2 separate regions of the Homo sapiens genome follow, and region 2 is linked to region 1. Evidence: promoter capture Hi-C in human tissues and cell types (Jung and others, 2019). All regions are on one chromosome and are shown on one strand. The core of a region is centred on a gene start or on the middle of the fragment in contact, and the rest is flanking DNA. Distances in the headings are between cores, read along the strand shown.

Region 1 (2,710 bases), core at 171-2,670:
ATATACCAGTTAGTTACATAAATTAGTTAAGGAAATAATTTGTCCTTCAAAATAAAACCCATATCAACCTTTATCTGATTTTATCATCAGACCAAATCAAAGAGTGTACATTTGTCTTTTTCTTTTTTGAGACACAGTCTCGCTCTGTCGCCCAGGCTGGAGTGCAGTGGCAAGATCTCGGCTCACTGCAAGCTCCGTCTCCCAGGTTCACGCCATGCTCCTGCCTCAGCCTCCCAAGTAGCTGGGACTACAGGCGCCTGCCACCAAGCCCGGCTAATTTTTTATATTTTTAGTAGAGACGGGGTTTCACCGTGTTAGCCAGGATGGTCTTGATCTCCTGACCTCGTGATCCGCCCACCTGGGTCTCCCAAAGTGCTGGGATTACAGGCGTGAGCCACCGCGCCCGGCCGTAAATTTGTCATCTTAGTTCCTCTACAGAATCTATTAAAATGTTATGAAAAACCTCTGCAAGGAGAAACTTGGAGGCATTCTAAACCTGCAGCTTTCACGTTGATATACACATTGGAGAGAGGTGTCAATAGTCCAAATGAGACAAAGAATTGTAATAATTTTCAATAATTTTTGTTCTCTTCATTTACCTATCTACCCCAAAGTTTAACAATAAGTTATGTGTGTCATTCTCGTGGCCTTGATGTAACTTGAGGCACTTGTAACTTAAGTCATTTATTTTCAACTGAGGGGCCGTTTTGTTTCTTCAAATACACAATAACAGCCACAGGCACAATGTCCTCTTGAGAGGGTAAAAACCTTGGCCCTCCAAGTGTTTTGGTACAGTGATCCGGAATCAAAGACGCTGGGAACAGGGACGCTGGAATGCTTTCCCAAGCTAATCAGCAAGTTGGGAACTGTCTCATTTCCGTAACCGGACATTCAGGGTGTCCTAGTCACATGTGCCTGTTTTGGCGGGTGGAAAACCTGAGGGCGATCGGGAGGGTCCCCAGGGGCCCCATGAAGGTGCTTCCCTGAGATGTTCGGGCCCCCTGCGGAGCACCAGGGTCCACGCCAAGACGCTTCTGATCAACTGTAGCTTCTCGGTGACTACACTGCCAGGAATGGCTGCATGGACGGAGCCAGACCCAGGCCGGGGCGCGAGAGTTCCCCAGGCCCCGGGGGGCTCCAGGGGAGGTCCCTCCGGCCCGGGCCGGCCCCACTGTCCTCCGCGGCCTGCGGCCGACGCTCACCGGCAGCCGCGTCAGGGTGCTGGCCGCCTCATCCACCTCCTCCCGTGAGGTCGTACGCGCCACCCTCTCCTTGCTCACTGACTGCCAGAAGGTCTTCCAGCCGCTGAGGATGGCCGCCTCCAGGCGGCCCCAGTCGCTGAAGGGCGGCGGCGGCGAGTTTGTTCCGCTGCGCGGCTCGCTTCCCGCCATGGCTTGCCCGCAGCGTGGGTGACGCGTCTTAGAGCCACGCTAGCGCGTCAGCCTCCTGCGCAGCTCCGCGCCAGCCGAGGGCGCCCTCGGGCGTTCCGCCTCCCGCTTCTCCCGCGAGTCCGCCTCCAGGGCAGGGTTAGGCCCAGGGGCAAGGGCGGGTACTGGGAGGAAGCCCACTGTGCGTGGCTGTGAGCCGAGTACGAAGCTCCTGTCAACAATTAACTTCCCCAGTAACTTGTGGCCTCAACCTCAGCCACGCCAACCGCAGAGCCCCTGTACAACCTCTGGCCCGCTGACTTCCTGGCTTCATTCAAGATGTTCTCTCCGGGATCATTTCCACTATGCCTGGTCCTAGGCGACTCCGCTTGTTCGATAGACCTCTGCCACTGTCTTGGGCTTAATAACCACTTGCTTCCTTTTCAGCACTACCATACTACGTATGGGGTGTTTTTTGTGTGTGTTATTTCCTCAATCACCAAGTTACCATTTATTTTCTTGAGTATCAGCAAAAACAGACTAGAGAGGCAGTCAGCGGGCCAATTACAAAGAACCTTTTGCCAAAATGAGAAGTCTGGACCCACTATGCAAAAATATAAGCACATTTAAAATTTGCAAGGGCGGCAAAAAACGGCTAGAAGAACCCAGATGTGGTGGTGTTGAAATCCCACTAGTGAGTTTTTTAATTCTCAAACCAGATGCCCATTCTACTTACTTTGGGCTTACTTTAAAAGTGCTTTAAGAGAACGTATTACAAGTTAATCTGTTACATAGAACTGGGTATGTATACATTCAAAAAGTAAATCTCTGAGGATCTAAATGTCAACAGAATCCAAGAAAGCCTGATAACTAAGGTTCTGCAAGGCTCTGTAACATACAAGTTTAAGTTTCATTACATTTTATTATTTGCATGTTGTTGGTAGGGGCCAATAACCAATAAAATTGCAGCCTCGTTTTTGGGAGGCAATCTGGACAAGGACCACGGATTAACCATATGGCATTTCTCATCACTTTCTAGGACACGATTTACTTTGAGAGCAAAAAACGAACTAGAGCAAGAAAAAAAATCAGTTCAAGTATAAAGTATTAAAATGATATCTGTTAAATGAATGAGAAAAACTTTATTACGGAAAATTTTGAACATTTATAAAAGGAGAGTGAATAATATGCTCCTGTGTGCCCAGTATCCAAGATTCCATTACCAACACCTGGTTAATCTTGTGCTGTTGCTATACTCACCTAATACTACACCCCCAATTCTGGATCCTTTTGAAACAAATCCCAGACCTATCATCTGTAAATATCTCAGTATCCGTCCCTAA
Region 2 (2,843 bases), core at 43-2,542, 490 kb before region 1:
AAAATTCAAAATGGCCCATGAGACCCTACGTGAGCTATGTACCTTTGCCCCACACCTCATCTCCCATGAATTTCCCCATCACTGGGTCATCCATTCTGCTCCCAGCACACCGGCCTCCCTGCTGTTTCTTAAGCAGGCCAGGCAGACTCCTAACTTGAAGGCTTTTTGCTGGCTTTTCTCTCTGATTTAAACACACTTCCACAAATATTCATTTGCTTCCTCCTACAGTTCCTTGAAGTCTTTACTCAGATATTGGCTAACTTATCTTGTCCAACCTATTTTACCTTATTATGGCCTTACCTTATTATGGCCCACCCTTCCCCAGTCTTTTATACATCCCCAGTAGGGCTTAGCAAAAAATATAAACTGCCTTGAAGACAATAGAAACAATTAGAAAATAATTCTGATTATATATATTCAAGTGCAGATATCTAGGTCAGATCGCCATCTCCCCAAACCATAAAACACCACAGTATAAACTTCCTAAATCTACAGTTATCTGAGGTTAGAGCATGGCTTTAGTCACTCTGTTGTACTATAAAATGCCAAAGCTTCTTCTCAAAACAAAACAAAAGAGGCCAAAACACTTAAAGTAGCATTTTATAGCTGTTTTGTTTTATAGCATTTGTAGTTGAAGAACATAGGATTGTTAGTCAGGAGCCTTGGGATCCTGTGTGGGTCCTCTGTGATTTTGGGTAAATTAGTTACTAATCTCACAATGACTCCATTTCTTGGCCTATAGAAGGAAGGGGTTGCTCTCTGAGATCATTCAGCTGTAAAATAAAGTATTAGATTGATATTTGTAAATCAAATTATGATATCAAACATTTGTGATAAATTCTAAATTTATTTGAATAATATTTGACCAAATGTCCGGGTACCATGCCCTAGCAAAGTTGACACATTGAGATGGTTAATTTTATGTGTCAATTTTGCTAGACCATGGTACCCAGATATTTGGTCAAATATTATTTTAGATTTTTTTGGCAAAGGCATTTTTATGGTAAGATTAACATTTAAATCAATAGACTTTGAGTAAATCATATTGCTCTACATAATGTAGGTGGGCCTCAATCGATCAGTTGAAGGCATTAAGAGAAAAAAACTGACCTATCCCAAAGAAGAGAAAATTCTGTCAGCAGGCAGCCTTTGGATTCAAACTGCATATCAACTATTCCCTAAATCTGTAACCAATTTACCCTGTAGATTTTTGACTTTTCAGTTTTCACAATTATGTGAGCAAATTTCTCAAAATAAGTCTCTGTATATATATCTCATGAATATGACATATATATATATATATATATCTCATGAATATGACATATATATATATATATATCTCCCTGATTAATACAATATTTACTGGTAAAATTAATAAGATTCTAATAAAATATTATCCCTTTAATGAATTTTTTTTAAACTAACACTGAATTCCCATTCACCATGTTCTTTCATTCATACAAATGTTGGTGAGCCTACACTATGACAGACTTCGTTCTAAAAACTTAGCATGCATCAGGGAACAAAATTTATACCACATATCTACAAAGATGCTGCCCTCATGGGGCTTGCATTCTAGTTAGGAGAGACAATGAACAATAAACATAATAAGTAAATCACTGAAGTGCTGATTAAAGAAAACCATAGCAGGGTAAGAGGCTCAAGAATGTCAGGTAGCAGGTACAAGAGTGCTGAGAATTCCTTCCTTGCCCAGGACTCAGCATATCATGGAATTGAGCATGTGATGCTTGTGAGCACACTGTGAGAGCTCTTTGACTAGGGTACTCTCTTTATCTTAGTCCCCTAGTTCCATCCCACAACTGCCTTGGGTGAGGATGGCAAGGGAATCATGAAGAGAAAAAAATGACTTAGGGAAGTATTTATTGCTTTCCCCCTATATTGGAAGGTAACAGGGAAAATGTTATTTCATGATCTGGGTATTCTTAGCCAAAATTTATGAGGAGGTCCCAGAGCCAGGTGAAAGCTTAAAATTGCCATTTATTGGAAAACAACCTAAGATGGCCAAATAGGAACAGCTCTCATCAGCAGCTCCCAGCGTGACTGATGCAGAAGACGGGTGATTTCTGCATTTCCAACTGAGGTACCTGGTTCATCTCATTGGGACTGGTTGGACAGTGGGTGCAGCCCAGAGAGAATAAGCTGAAGCAGGGTGGGGCGTCGCTTCACCCGGGAAGAGCAAGGGGTTGGGGAATTTCCCTTTCTTAGCCAAGGGAAGCAGTGACAGTCTGTACCTGGAGGAATGGTACACTTCTGCCCAAATACTTCACTTTTCCCTCAGTTTTCACAACCAGCAGACGAGGAAGTTCCTTCCTGTGCCTGGCTCAGCAGGTCCCACACCCACAGAGCCTTGCTCACTGCTAGTGCAGCAGTCCAACATCAAACTACGAGGTGGTAGCCTGGCTGGAGGAGAGACGTCAGCCATTGCTGAGGCTTGAGTAGGTAAAGAAAGTGGCTGGGAAGCTTGAACTGGGTGGAGCCCACCGCAGCTCAACGAGGCCTGCTTGCCTCTGTAGACTCCAACTCTGGGGGCAGGGCATAGCTGAACAAAAGGCAGCAGAAACTTCTGCAGACTTAAATGGCCCTGTCTGACAGCTCTGAAGAGAGCAGTGGTTCTCCCAGCATGGTGTTTGAACTCTGAGAAAGGACAGACTGCCTCCTCAAGTGGGTCCCTGACCCCCGTGTAGCCTAACTGGGAGACACCTCCCAGTAGGGGCTGACAGACACCTCATACAGGCAGGTGCCCCTCTGGGATGAAGCTTCCAGAGGAAGGATCAGGCAGCAATATTTGCTGTTCTGCAGCCTCTGCTGGTGATACCCAGGCA

Evidence for each region. Contacts are between HindIII fragments. The study calls those that stand out against the background at their distance.
Region 2: a fragment that was not itself captured here is called in contact with the fragment with the promoter of FBXO4 in region 1 in 1 of the 25 tissues and cell types used here (heart left ventricle).

What each region holds. Positions count from the first base shown.
Region 1 is chr5:41,923,991-41,926,700 of GRCh38, reverse strand. It overlaps FBXO4 (F-box protein 4), which reads right to left and starts at 1,420. Exons shown (of 7, transcript NM_012176.3): 1 at 1,203-1,420. The coding sequence starts at 1,391. RefSeq lists a silencer at 983-1,162. The HindIII fragment of the contact is 11,897 bases long and covers 1-2,710 here.
Region 2 is chr5:42,417,726-42,420,568 of GRCh38, reverse strand. No RefSeq gene overlaps it. Among named protein-coding and RNA genes, the nearest start is that of GHR, 4.3 kb to the left of the region's middle. The HindIII fragment of the contact is 4,187 bases long and covers 1-2,843 here.